Linked DNA regions of Homo sapiens: regions 1, 2, 3 and 4 are each linked to region 5. The links are contacts of gene promoters, found by promoter capture Hi-C in human tissues and cell types (Jung and others, 2019). All regions are on one chromosome and are shown on one strand. The core of a region is centred on a gene start or on the middle of the fragment in contact, and the rest is flanking DNA. Distances in the headings are between cores, read along the strand shown. Region 1 has its middle 130 kb from the start of IL15. Region 2 has its middle 16 kb from the start of LINC02276. Region 3 overlaps RNF150 (ring finger protein 150). Region 4 has its middle 54 kb from the start of LINC02432. Region 5 holds the start of INPP4B (inositol polyphosphate-4-phosphatase type II B).

What was found. The method cuts DNA at HindIII sites, captures the fragments that hold promoters and counts their contacts. A contact is called where the count stands out against the background at its distance.
Region 1: a contact is called between a fragment that was not itself captured here and the fragment with the promoter of INPP4B in region 5, in 1 of the 25 tissues and cell types used here (dorsolateral prefrontal cortex).
Region 2: a fragment that was not itself captured here is called in contact with the fragment with the promoter of INPP4B in region 5 in 1 of the 25 tissues and cell types used here (lymphoblastoid cells).
Region 3: a contact is called between a fragment that was not itself captured here and the fragment with the promoter of INPP4B in region 5, in 1 of the 25 tissues and cell types used here (dorsolateral prefrontal cortex).
Region 4: a fragment that was not itself captured here is called in contact with the fragment with the promoter of INPP4B in region 5 in 1 of the 25 tissues and cell types used here (dorsolateral prefrontal cortex).

What each region holds. Positions count from the first base shown.
Region 1 is chr4:141,766,506-141,769,205 of GRCh38, forward strand. No RefSeq gene overlaps it. Among named protein-coding and RNA genes, the nearest start is that of IL15, 130 kb to the left of the region's middle. The HindIII fragment of the contact is 3,555 bases long and covers 1-2,700 here.
Region 2 is chr4:141,591,955-141,594,654 of GRCh38, forward strand. No RefSeq gene overlaps it. Among named protein-coding and RNA genes, the nearest start is that of LINC02276, 16 kb to the left of the region's middle. The HindIII fragment of the contact is 8,627 bases long and covers 1-2,700 here.
Region 3 is chr4:141,079,612-141,082,311 of GRCh38, forward strand. The region is part of intron 1 of RNF150 (ring finger protein 150); the gene reads right to left. Among named protein-coding and RNA genes, the nearest start is that of RNF150, 53 kb to the right of the region's middle. The HindIII fragment of the contact is 4,083 bases long and covers 1-2,700 here.
Region 4 is chr4:141,385,460-141,388,159 of GRCh38, forward strand. No RefSeq gene overlaps it. Among named protein-coding and RNA genes, the nearest start is that of LINC02432, 54 kb to the left of the region's middle. The HindIII fragment of the contact is 3,171 bases long and covers 1-2,700 here.
Region 5 is chr4:142,844,993-142,847,692 of GRCh38, forward strand. It overlaps INPP4B (inositol polyphosphate-4-phosphatase type II B), which reads right to left and starts at 1,309. Exons shown (of 26, transcript NM_001101669.3): 1 at 1,217-1,309. All of the region lies in intron 3 of USP38-DT (USP38 divergent transcript), which reads right to left. RefSeq lists an enhancer at 2,066-2,652. The HindIII fragment of the contact is 7,687 bases long and covers 1-2,700 here.

The DNA.
Region 1 (2,700 bases), core at 23-2,522, 1.1 Mb before region 5:
TTTTCTAGTTTTATTTTTTATCAAATAGTCATGACCTGACATGTTTCCTCCTCCATGGCATTAACTTAATGTAGCCAGATTTCAGTTATCTTTGAAAGAATTTTTAAAGAATCTCTTTTTTCCACCAAAGACTTGGGAGATTTAAATAATTCATGTTTTCAGATATGATCCCTAAATTTAAATTGAACTAAACAAACTCAGTGAATGCAATTCATTCACTAGCAGGTGTAAAGCAGTAAAGCAGCTGTTTAGCAGGAAAGTGTCTGAACATTACAAGAAGCCTGACTAACAGATTCATTATCACAGCGGAGCATGATTTTACAGTACTGTAAATGTGTCAAACTGGTTAAGCCACGGGACTTAAACCCTGTTTTGTTATGGTGCCTTAAACAATGAGAATATTCCAAAATATTTAGTCAATATATAATTATTATGAACTCACAGAGACATAACCCTACTCAGAGGTGCTTTCCAAACACCCTAGAATATTGAGACTAATTTGTTAACAAACATATTCTATGTCTTTTATATAAATGAGCATTGAACTTGGAAGTTCTTAGAACTAGGCTTTTACTTAAGTGATATGCTTTTTGCATAAAACCTTCCAAGCTAATTTTAAACTTTAAATGAAAGAATAATTATTACAGGTGTTTAAAATATTGGTTGAATTTTTATTCAAAAATACTTCCAAATTACATTATTTTTAAAATTTACCCTCAAAAGTTGATGATTTACTACCATTGAGAAATTTAAGAATTCTATTTGTAAGCCCTTATATTTTTCAAACAACTGCACCTTTAATTTAGTTGAAAAATATTAAAGGAGAACTTTCAAAGTAACTAACACTATGATGGGTGCAGGAAGATAATGTGAAAAATATGCAACTCCTGCTCACTCTCATAGATTTCTTTCTGACTATAGGCCCCCCCGAGCTTTCTTTTCTTATAGCATTTACTTTAGAAAACTATTAATGACAAATTCTTTCTCTGCCACTTTGGAATGAATGTAAATCTCCTTAAAAAGCCTACTGCCAGGTTTACAACCCAGGGCATGTATTCCTTAAGGACCTTGGAGTCATCTCTTTGAAGTGTAATCATCCAAAAAGATAGCACCCCTTTCTCTCAGCCTCCATGGTGAGGTAGAAACTTAACTTCAGTGGCTCCTTGCTCCAAGTTGTAAAACTACCACCTGTCCTGAAGACAGGAGAAAGCTTACTTTCTCTTTTGGTTAGGCCAATTAGCAAACACAGATGACATACAAGTCCCCCCACTCCAGCTCCTAAAAACTTTCTGGGCTTTTGTTTCCGTGGATTTGAGTTTAGTCTCTTTTCCCTCTTGCAATTGTCTTGAATAAATGATAGTCTGATTAGTCTTACACAGCCTTCAGTAAATAGAATTTATTAAAGTAAAAAGTGTATTTTGCTTTGTCCAGTGCAATTTTTTACATTGACAACCTTTTGGACAATGGTTTTATAGGTAAGAGGGAGGGGCACTGGGTACAGATGATTAATTATGAATCTATTGCTATAATGCAGGCAGAGCTATTGGGAATAAATTAAGAACTTAGTGCAGGAAGAGGCAGAACTAAGAAATACCAAGGGGGTAGAATCTATGGGACTTGGTGACCATGGATTTTTAAAGATAAGAATGTAAAGTGTTATTTAGGTTTTTGGCAAGGATCAAGTCTTTTGACTGGATGAATTGTGGTAAAACTCCTGATAAAGTGAACAAAAAATTATTGAATGGGCCGGGCGTGGTGGCTCACGCCTGTAATCCCAGCACTTTGGGAGGCTGAGGCGGGCGGATCACGAGGTCAGGAGATCGAGACCATCCTGGCTAACACAGTGAAACCCCGTCTCTAATAAAAATACAAAAAAAAAAAAAAAAAATTAGCCGGGTGTGGTGGCGGGCTCCTGTAGTCCCAGCTACTCGGGAGGCTGAAGCAAGAGAATGGCGTGAACCCGGGAGGCGGAGCATGAGAGTGTGCAGAGATCGCGCCACTGCATTCCAGCCTGGATGACAGAGTGAGACTCCGTCTCAAAAATAAAAAAAAAAAAAGAAAATAATAAAAAAAAAGAAAATTATTGACTGAAACAGAGGTAAGTATATTTTTCTTATTCCAACTTTCTGGGTTGATGTTTGAAGATCCCTACAAGCTATATACCTCAAGCAAGGTTCTTCTACATGTATTGAAGGTGTAGTTTGTAGAGAAAAGAATGTGGTAGTAAGTAATGTCGGCAGACCTCATCTTGAGATAAATGGAAGTCCTCTCACATAGTTCTTTCTTTCAGTGCCCACCACGAATTCTTGTAAATATACTACTGGTTCCTGAGGAGTATTAGGGGATAAGCACCTTGCACATGACCTCCATATTGATCAAGGCAATCTCAACACTTTTATTATTTGATTAAACTTAATTCTGGAACAAAGAGTCCATTTTAGAGATATTGGCAAATAACAGCATTGATCAAATTCGTGTTTTCTGCATTTTTCAACCAGAACATAAAGCTCTCTTGTCTCCAGGGCCATTCTCTTTATTTCATCAACAGACGGTGTCACAGTCAATTTCTGTGCTCTTGTACTGGCATATAAAATCTAAAGCAGCTATCCAAGGGTGCATTAAATATAAAATGGCTGAGTCATTCTGTCTTACACGGAAACATATGGGAATCTTTGCTTCCTAATAAAGAAAACAATGGGG
Region 2 (2,700 bases), core at 38-2,537, 1.3 Mb before region 5:
ACCTAGCCAAACTGTCATTTAAATTTGAGAACATAATAGTCTTAAAGTAGGTAATTTTAAGATGGCCCCAAGATCTCGGGCCCCTTACATACACACCTGCCATAATTTCCCAGAGTATAAATATTTTACTGCTATGATGAGTTATGTCAGGTGGTATACTTGACTTTAAGAAAGGAATGTTATCCAACTGGCTTAGTCTAATCACAAGAGCCCCTTAAATCTGAGTACAGAGGACAGAGAAAAGGGGAGTCAGAACTTTGAAATAGAGACATACTCCTGCTGGCATGGAAGAAGCCACCAACAAGTTGTAGAGAGGGTCACATGGTGCAGGGAGTGGCAAACAGCCTCTAGGAGCTAGGAATGGCCCCCTGGTCAACAGCCAGCAAGAAAAAGGAGATCTCAGTCCTGTAATCACCAGGAACTACATTCTTCCCACAACCAAAATGAGTTTGGAACTGGATTTTCCCTGGAACTTCCAGACAAGAACTAAGCCAAGCCAACATCTTATCTCTAGCCACCTGAGCCACTAAATGGAGGACTCAGGCATCTAAGCAGAACTCCTAACCTACTGAAATGGTGAGATAATAAATTCATGTTGTTTTAAGCTGCTAAATTTATGGCAAACTTCTGCATAGCAATAAAAACTAATGCAGAAGTATTCATGCATAAGTACTATATTAAAACCAACTGGAGTTTTCAAATAGAAAGAAAATACTAGGCAATACTTTAAGATGAGAACAAATCAAGAACAGAAAATGATACTATTATTTCACTAACAAACATGTTTGAAGAGCTCCTAAATAAAAGATTAACTAGTTAATTCCCATTATATATTCCCAATTTTCCTAAGATTATAATCCTAATTATATGTATATAATTATAATTAATTATAGTTCCTTTTGAGGCATAACAAGTTACCCAAATTATTGGTGTGAAAAAAACCCAAGTGTTTTGCTTTTCTCAGGCTTTATGGATAGGGATTATGGGAAGAACTGAGCAGAGTTCTCACTCAGTCTCATTTGGTTGCAGTTAGATGTTGGCTGAGACTGTAATCTTCTACCTTTGCCTGATAGTTAAATGCTGAATTTGAGTGTGGCATGTATTAAGAATTGGCAGAATTTAAAACGTCTCCTGTGGTCTGACCAAAATGTCTTTAAAGATTATTGTCTTATTTGGGACACAAGAATCTTATCTACCAGTCAAAGCTGAGACATGATTTTATTGTTCTAGCTACTGTCTGCCTTTCTCCCAGAAACAATGACCGTTATTGCTCCTGTAATAGGTTGGAAGCCCCAGAGCAACACAATCAAAAATCGAATCTGATATGGAAATTTCGCACATATTTGTATTACTATGAGTTACACTACTATATGCCAAGTGCTGTGCACAGTCTTAGTTATAAAAATCAATAAGATAATATTTCTGCCCAAGTGGAGTTCCTAATCTCATAGCAGAGAAAAAATATATAAAGAGCTAACCACAATTACACACAACTAATCCTATAATAATGGTAAAAACAAAGCAATGTGGGAGCACAGAGAAAGCTCAACTAAAAGTACCCAGAAAACAGGTGTGCCTTAGTACTATATTTCCATTGTATTTATACATTGAAATTGGACTATATCAATGGCAAAAGATAATATAATTTAGAGAACATGTTGTATATCCTAACCAGGGAGCAGAAAATGTCAACATCTTTTATATTAAAGGAAAATTGTTTCTTGCAATTTCAGTGTATTTGACCATGAGGAAAACAAATCAGTTTTTGCTCTTTCTTGTTTATCATTTCTTTTCTTGTTTATTACTCTTATTTATTATAGTTTAGCTTTGTTTGTTTAAAGATGATTTTCTGAAATTCAGTTTTCCTAAGATTATTTATTGAGGCATGCAGTTTTGTCTTCAAAAATTAAATTTTTCTCTTTTTAAAATCTAATATTAACCTTGACCATTATTTGTAATTACCTACGATTTGTGCAACATTAGTGAAATGCTGTGGGACATTTCTGGATGAAAAACATCAAAGATTTTGCCCTACAAGTCTTAAATTCTGGTAGGAGAGACGGCAGCATGAAAATAGTATGATATCAGATAAAATAAAATAAATGCCATCAAAATGTTATGGAAAACAAAGTAAATGTTTCACGAGTTTTGATCGTCATGATTATTGTTTTTGGTTGCTCCCTGTATCCTCAATGACATAATGCATCTTCAGTTTATATTTTTAATATTTTTATAATTTCATCCTTTTTAAGAGTTATAACTTAAAAAGTGGCTCCAGGTGAGAACACTAAGGTCAGAGAAGTCCATTGTCATATGGTTCAACGGCAAGATTCTGACACAGTGTTTCACAATGTTTATTAGCTAGACCAGGTACTGCAAAATTCATGGGCTGTGGTTAAATTTGGCTCACAGATATGTCTTAATATTGTGATCATTTTTAGCTATTTAAGTATTTCAAAATAGTTTCTAGCAGAGCATGCCTTCTTAAATATATATATAAAATATACGTATTATATATGTGTACACACACACAGACACACATATATGTGTGATTTGGCCATCTTACAATGGTTGAGCCTCCAAAGGCATCTGGGTCTAAAATTCCTTCTGAATCTATGCCCTACAGTATATGCAACACACTGCATGAAATGCAGCAGTGGCAGTTCCCAAAACCTGTTGTGTTCTGTTTAGCTTCTGGGT
Region 3 (2,700 bases), core at 42-2,541, 1.8 Mb before region 5:
AAGCCAACACTGGCTGAGCACTACAGACAGCAATGGAAGAATGATTTGGAGGGAGGTCAGACAGACCTGACTTTAAATCCTACCACTTATTTACTTCATGAAGTTTCCTCATCTGAAAAATGGGGCTAGTAACACCTCCTAGCAGAACTGTTATAGACAGATTTCATGTCTGGCATTTATGTCCTAACACTGTGTGGTAGCAGGCCGAACTCCAGGCCCTGGAGCCAGAACGTCTGTGGGACTTGGGGCAAATTGCTAACCCTCCTGAGGTTCAGTTCTCTTATAAGTAAATGGCAGTAAAAGCAGTAAGGAGTTCACAGCATTGCTACGATGACCATGTGAAATAAAGCACAGAAAGCATAGTCAGGACTCCATAAACGTTGTTTAAAATTGTAAGACAGGCACTATTCTCCAAGAGCCAGTGTGCATTACACTGAAAAGTGGAAAAAAAAAATCCTAATTCAAAAAAGACATACTTAGTATTTGAACAAACAAAAAAGTAAAAAGTACTTGCTCTTGAAAGAAAACCTCTTCCTAGGGAAGCCAGAGTAGTCAGCTGTGACAGGAAGATTTACCTGCAGCTGCAAAATCAATCTCTCCATAATCATTCACAAAATCCCACTGCCTCTTCTTTTTGTAATCTCTGAAATTCATCTATTCTCCTTTTCCTACACTAATTTCTCATCCAGTCTATTACTATTTTGTTTGTATTTTTTACAATGACAAATACGAAACAAAACCTCTGGTTCATCATCCAATTTGCAATCACCTGTCTGCATTCTAGTCACTGTGTCTTCCTCACCCAATCTAATACTGGCTGCTATAATCAGTTTAAATTTTCTCTCGTCATTGTCAAGATACAGTGATGTGAGTGCTTAAAACATGTCTTCTAATTTCTTAATTAGTTTCATTTCATATTCCTTATTTTTCTCAAATATATCCCCTTTCAACAACGTCTCCTAGAAGAAGTCCATTCCTGTGAAAAATCAACTGCTTAGCTGAAGTTGCATGTTTTTTGTTCTTTTCTGTCTCTAAACAAGCCTATGAGGATATTAATTAGATTTGTGTGAGAAAGGGCAAGGGGAAAATGTGTCAGCTGTCACCATCTAAGCTTAGCTCTATGGAGCTTTAGAATCAGTCCTCAAGACAGAATGACAGTAATTGGAGATATTAGGATTCTGGAGCTGCACATGTCCCCCAGGGAAGGCACCAGTAGAGGCAAAGGTACAGTGAGGCTGAGGCAGGAAATCAGTAGGAATTCCAGAAGCAGGGGGCTACCACAAGGAAGGAACAGCCGGTGGGCCGAATGTGAGAAGTCTGATCGCCAAACGAGACCTGCAGGTACGGCTCTGGGTGGAGTGACCTGTTTACCGGATCACATGTCCAATGCGGTTGTCACCATTGCAGAGCAGCACGACTTCTAAAATGTTACTTTTGGATAAGTGGCCAGTATGGATGGACAGTCACTGTCAGATGCAAGCATCCATTACTGCCATAATATCAGTACTGCTCAAATTTCTGAAAAGAAGTCCAGGGCTAAGGACATGTCTGCATTGGGACAATTTTATTTTACAAAAAACCCTATCAGTCATTGAAATAAATGGCCTTTAGATGTTAGTTGAACTGTTACTTTAAGCTAGGTAAATTTTCTGTTTCCCATGCCTTCTCAGTGCTCCATCTTAACTTCATCTGCCAAGCAACTCACTCTAAGCAAAGAAAACACAGAAGAGAGCTTCTTATGCTACTGATAGAGAGCAGGAAATAAATGAGGCAAAAAGAAACTCATACTCTCCAAAATGGAAGAACCTAAAGACCAGTGCTTCCATCGGACAGGGGCAAGAAAACAGCACTGCAAACCAAATCTCAGCATGGGTGGGATTTCATGTGTTTCATGTTTGGCAGCTTTACATTTACAAAATTTCCCTATTAAAACAGTTGCATTTTTATCTTCCAAAAATTATTGGTGAAAAACCCTGAATACTGGTTAAAGGAATATAAAAATATAGGCAAAGACAAAATAGAGGTCTGTGAGGTCCACAATATTTTAGAACAGAGAAATAATAATTGAACTATTCTTTAATGTGTGTATGTAAGTACGCGTGTGTGTACCTACTTAGAGAATTAACTGATAGATTTTTAAGTTATTCCTTTAGAGATAGACACTTTTCATGTATGTTTAAAGAACAACTTACTCTGATTCCTTCAACAGTGCCTGCACACACCCTCATTCAATATCAACGGAATAGAAAAGGTTTGCTGTTTTGTTTATACCCTGTGGAGAATTCAGTTTAATTTTCAAAACCGTAAACTGTTCCACTTATGCCCTAGGGCTCTCAGAACTTTATGGTCACTCTGCATTCAATACTGTTTCACTGTCAAAGTATAATTACGTGTTTGTATCAAAGAAAGCAAACGCAGTCGGCTTCCCAAAAGCTTGCTTCAGTTTGGCCATTTACGTTAATTGCACAGTCACAACACATGGGCAAGAGGCACCACTGCAGTGCAATAATTTGAGCTCTGAGTTTCTCTGCTGTTCTGAACTCTTCAGAGAAAAGGGACTAAAATAATCCAAAGTAGTTATACATATTATTGGCCAAATTCCCTGAAGGCTTATTCTTCTTTGGAAAAAAGCCTAAAGGCAACATACATAATAACTGAGGGATTAAATAGTGATTCCTGCGTCACGGCTATAAACGTTAC
Region 4 (2,700 bases), core at 26-2,525, 1.5 Mb before region 5:
ACAGAAAAATAATGACTGAAAATTTTAAGTTGCTTTATTATTATTATTATTTATAAAACTGCTTCCTGTATCTTTTAAGTTATTGTGTTAGGAAGTGTTTTCTCTCAACAAAATCTTCATCTTTCTCAGCTTCCATTTTTACCACTCTGTCTCTGCTTCCAAGGATGTTACTTTAACATCTACTACTTAGGCTTGATACGTAAGTTTCCACCTTTTCGGCCAGTATCCTTTGCTCTGGTTAAGAACTGTTTTTAGCATGCCAGTTTTTGTCTTTCTCATCTATTCTTTGACAATTTCTTCTGAGCTACTGCGTGGCATGTGTTTGACTGCTTTTCACTTCCAGCCATCAACCCATCTACTTGCTCTCATTTGTCATTTGTTTCAAATGTTTTTTAAATCTGTGTGTCCAAAGATTGATTTTCCAGAAAGCCTAATTTAAAATATGTCACCCAGCCTGCCACTTATATTTCATAAAAAATATTATTCTATTATCCTGATATTTCTTTTCCTTCTGGATATATAATTCTTAGCTGTTAGTTTTAAAGCCACTTTTAATTCTTTTTATTATATAAAAGCACAGAAAAGTATAAAAGAATAGACATGAAACATTAGATGTACTTTCTGCCTTGGGGGAAAATATCTCTGGGAATTTAATGATTTAAGTTATTTGTTGAATCATAACTTCTTAGTATCTAAACTAATTTTAAGGCCAGCTCTGTTAATATTATAACTTTTGCAAATCTTCTGTTTAGGGATGCGTTTTAAAAACTGGGACAACCAGGTTAATAACATGGCTACTGTCATACAAAGTATACGCAATGCAAGTGAAATTTTGGCAAGAAGAGAAAGTAGCAGGTGGTTTCACGTTCATGGTCTCAACTAGCAAACCATACGTCTTTCAGGTATAGACACTGCCATTCTGGGCAATTTGGCTAAGCTTCCTAGGCCTCAGTTTCTTCAGCCCTAATTGTATAAAATCTTTCCATTTCAACACCTACCACTGACTTTATCAGGGATGAAGTGCTAATGTGGCCTTCAGTGCTAGCTCCGACTGGTTGACAGTGGCTGCCCAGGTACTCACTCTTTTTCTTTTTTTTTGAGACGGAGTCTCGCTCTGTCGCCCGGGCTGGAGTGCAGTGACGAGATCTCGGCTCACTGCAAGCTCCGCCTCCCGAGTTCACACCATTCTCTTGCCTCAGCCTCCCAAGTAGATGGGACGACAGCATGGGGTGCCCACCACCACGCCCGGCTAATTTTTTTTTTTTTTTTTTTGTATTTTTAGTAGAGACAGGGTTTCACCGTGTTAGCCAGGATGGTCTCTATCTCCTGACCTCGTGATCCGCCCGCCTCGGCCCCCCAAAGTGCTGGGATTACAGGCGTGAGCCACCGCGCCCTTCCCCAGATACTCACTCTTGGAGGTGAATCAGGAAACTAAGTAGGCATTCAGTGCAAAGGAGTCCTGCCATTAATTATTCTTATCTGTGATCGTTTTGGAAAAGAGAGTGGTGGCAGACATCTGTGTATTTTTGGACTCTGGATGGGAAACTTTATGCTAATATCTAAAATTAGTTAAAATTTTAACTATTCTGAAATTAGTTAAAATTCTCATGGAATTTCTTTCTCTCTCTTTCTTTTTTTTTCGAGGTTTCACCATGTTGCCCAGGCTGGATCTGGAACTCCTAGGCTCAAATGATCTGCCTGCCTCTGCCTCTCAAAATGCTGGAATTACAGGTGTGAGCTAATGCGCTCAGCCTTAGATTAAGATATCCGGGATTACTTCATTCTGGTCTTAGTGCAATTAGTAGAATTTGCCTCCAGTTCTGGCATTTTGAATAAACACAGTTTAACAAAACCCATTTTTTAATCCCTCCCAACTATCTGTCTTCCTTGCTGTTGTTTATTAGCTTTGTTATTTGAGGTCATCGTTTTTGTATCTAGCCTCTTAACAATTCCTCAGTGGTCACTGCCACTGCCTCATAGTTCCAAGTTGATCTGGAAAAATGATAGACCCTACGCATGCATAATTCCTGCACTACATCTTCTGTAAAGGATATGAGTAGTAACAGGTCTCTGATTTGGCACTGGTTCTTTCCCAATGTTCCAAGAAAGACATTGTATCTGCTGTTTTATATTTGGTGGTTAAAATTCTTTATAAACATCTTTTAATCTTATTATTTCATGAAAGACCTAGACCAAATGAATCATGAACCAATGCTCATAATGTTCAGATTGATGTTTGTAGTTTGTTATATAAGACAAACAAATATTTTGCTTTCACTTGAGGGTTATAGAAGTTTGTAACTAATAAGCAATTAACCATAAACTTTGATGTCTTTTCTGTATTGAAGCAAACTTTCTTATGAGAATATGGGTTTAGTGATGGAGTAAGTCACTGTATAATGTATACTTATGAGATAATTATACATACATATTTCCTTAGATTGTGAATTCCTTTTAGGGCATGGGCCACTCATATTCATCCTTGTGCCTAACACAAATTTGGCCTTCATTAAACAGACAATTAATTGAAGGCCTCAATGAAAAATGATTTAAGAATTTATATTTTTAATTCCTTTTAAGTTCTGGCAAATTTTTTCAAAGTTAGGCATCTTACCTTCCGCTGGAAACCATGTCTTAATAGAAAGAACAGTGGACTTGCATTCAGAAGACAGGTTAGTCTTGCTACTTCCTAAAACTTTC
Region 5 (2,700 bases), core at 59-2,558:
CTGGAGTCATAAAATATAATGACCTCAAATAACATTCCAGAAAGAGAAAGGAAAACTAGTTCTGGTTAGGGAGAAGATAAAAGAGGAAAAGGAGTAAATTTACATCCTTAAAACAAGAGTAATAGAAAACCCTACCGGGTTTTTCCAGTAAGTTTTGTGCAGCAGCAGCAACAACCTAATCAATATGTGCTTCCTCACCCTCTTGTCCCCAAAGAGAAACTGCTGGGCCCCTCTCCACCGACTCCCCAGGAGCAGAAACTACTGCCCCCAAGGAAGGGAGAATTCAGAAGCGTGGGGAGGGGGAAAAACAGGTATATGTGGTTCTAGCATCCTCATCTTCATATCAGCTACCAGCCTGAAACTACATTCAGGAACCAGGCTCCCAGACATTCCCCGGCCCTGGGCCCTGCCTGAGCGCCAGAGAGCTTGAGGAGCCTGCAGCATAGTTCTCAGACCCGAAACAATGACCTCCCCCGTCCAAACCCAGGCACTCTTGCGCCAAGGCCCTAACCTCTCAGCGAGACCTCTTTGGGGAAGGACAAGAGATGCTGCCTGATGGCCGAGAGAAGACATGCCAGGCTTCTCTGCCAGAATGAGTTGTTGAGGGTGGGATGAAGGTGGTCAAGGAGATGGGCTCTTTATTTTTAAAACAAAAAACAAGGCAACCGGGACCACCAACATCAGTCACCCTCACTCCCCACCACTGCCTCTATTCCTTAAGGACTTCTTCCCAGGCCGGCGGCGGCGGCGGCGGCGGCGGCGGCAGCTTGCGATCATCAGGATTGGAAGTGAGAGCGAGTGCCCGGGCCAACCTCAGCGTCTCTCAGGGACAGCGCAGGTGGGCGCAGCCTTGGAAGGTCAGCGAGGCCAGAGCTCAGAGTTCCACGGGGGCCCGGAGAGTGTGCGTGTGTGAGTGAGAATGCGAAAACGCGCGCGCGCCGGGCAGAGGGGCGCTCGGCGAGAGGGTAGGCGCGGTGACAGGGGTACCCCAGCAGCCGAGGAGAGACAGCCCACCCCACCCTTTAAGCTAAAGAGCTGGAGGGGTGATGGAGGCTGCAAGACGGAGAAACTTGATGCAAAACAGACAGGCTCCCCCCTCCAAGACGTGCCGCCACGCTCTCAGACACGCTCCCTCGCCTCCCGGATTACCCACCATCAACCACCCCACCCTGCAAAATTCCCCCACCGAGCCCTAGGATCCCAGGCGGGTAATTACCTCTCCCGGAGGCGGAGTGGGGGGCGGCAGCAGCAGCAGACACTTTTAGCCTGACTTTCCTGCGTTCGCTTGCGAGCGTGTGAGCGTGTGCGCGCCCAGGAGGAGCTGTAACCTGCTATTTATAGACCGAAGCCTCAGTACCCGGGGCTGAGAACCCGGAGGAAACTAGCAGGCGGCGGCGACGGCGCAGGGCGCCGGCCGCGGCTTCGCGAGGCTCCAGCAGCTCCCCCAGCCTCTGGCTTCGGCCGCGCTCCCTGCTCGCTCCTCGCCTACCAGCCCCGCGCGCGCCCCAGAGAAGTTGTCACCAGCGCGGCTGGCTCTCCGGCTGCTCACACGCCCCCTGGCACAATTGCTACTTTCTTCCACCCCAACCCCCACCCTCCCCGCTCCTCTTCCTCCTCCTCTGCTCTCTCCAAGCGGTCTCCTCCCAATGTCACCAGCGACCGAGTAGAGGCGGCCGTGGCAGCGACAGTCGCGCAACTGGCGCTGCTCGCTTCCCGCTACTGATAGAGCGGAGATGGTGGCCCGGCTGCCCACCCCGAAATTACCACGCTGGCTCCGTGTGCTCACACCCCGTACCCCGACCCCTTTCTGCGGCCCCTCTGCCCGCTGGGTCGCCCACCCAGACTGGGCTGTGGGATCACCGCTACCGCGACGAGGGGGGACCCGAGGCCGCCACGCTGCTGCGGGGGCAGGAGAAACCACAGAGAAAGAACCCGCGGGAGGAAGAAAGCGCCCCAGACCCCGGCCTATGGCAGCGCAGTCCCTAGACCGAGGGTTTTTGGAAGGGGCTTGGGATCCCTGCTGTCACTGCCTGCGTCTAGGCATCCATTCACGCCTGCTGGACCCCAGTCTGCAGCCGCGCTGGGACCCCTGTCTCTTGCCCCTCCTCCCCCTTGCCCCGGGCAGAGGTCGGGCTGAGGAGACCAGCTTAGAGCAGCCCTCGGCCACCCACCGCCAGTTCCCACGTCGCGGCGGGTGACTGAGGCCGAGATGCTCCCAACTAGCGTATGACATGCCTTTGATATCCCGGGTGCGTGGGGACAAATCCGCCCTGAATGTGTTGGGGTATCAGGAAAACGGGGTATGTAAGCAAGCAGTCTGGACGGAGACTAAAACTCCCCCACTTCCTAGCCCCTAACAAGCCCACAGGGGAAAGCACGCACCCTGGTTATTCCGGGCTGTGTAGGGTGTGGGGCAAATGACTCTCCCCATCTGCGCTTTACAGGTGCCACCTGGCGGCTCTCTCGGAAAGGTTTTGATGGAGCCGTTCAAAGGTAAAGGTGCCCAGAGCCAGCCCATCAAGACACCCCAGCCCTTCTCCCTGAGGGCGCTTTAAAATCACATTTTAAGTAAAGCAGTGTACGAATGCTTGTACACAAGTGTTACATTTGCCATGCAAAAAGACTGGAATCTCAAAGTCAGGACAGTGAAATCAATTTGGGTTAAGTCGGGGCTTAACAGTTTCACAAACCAGGAAGCTG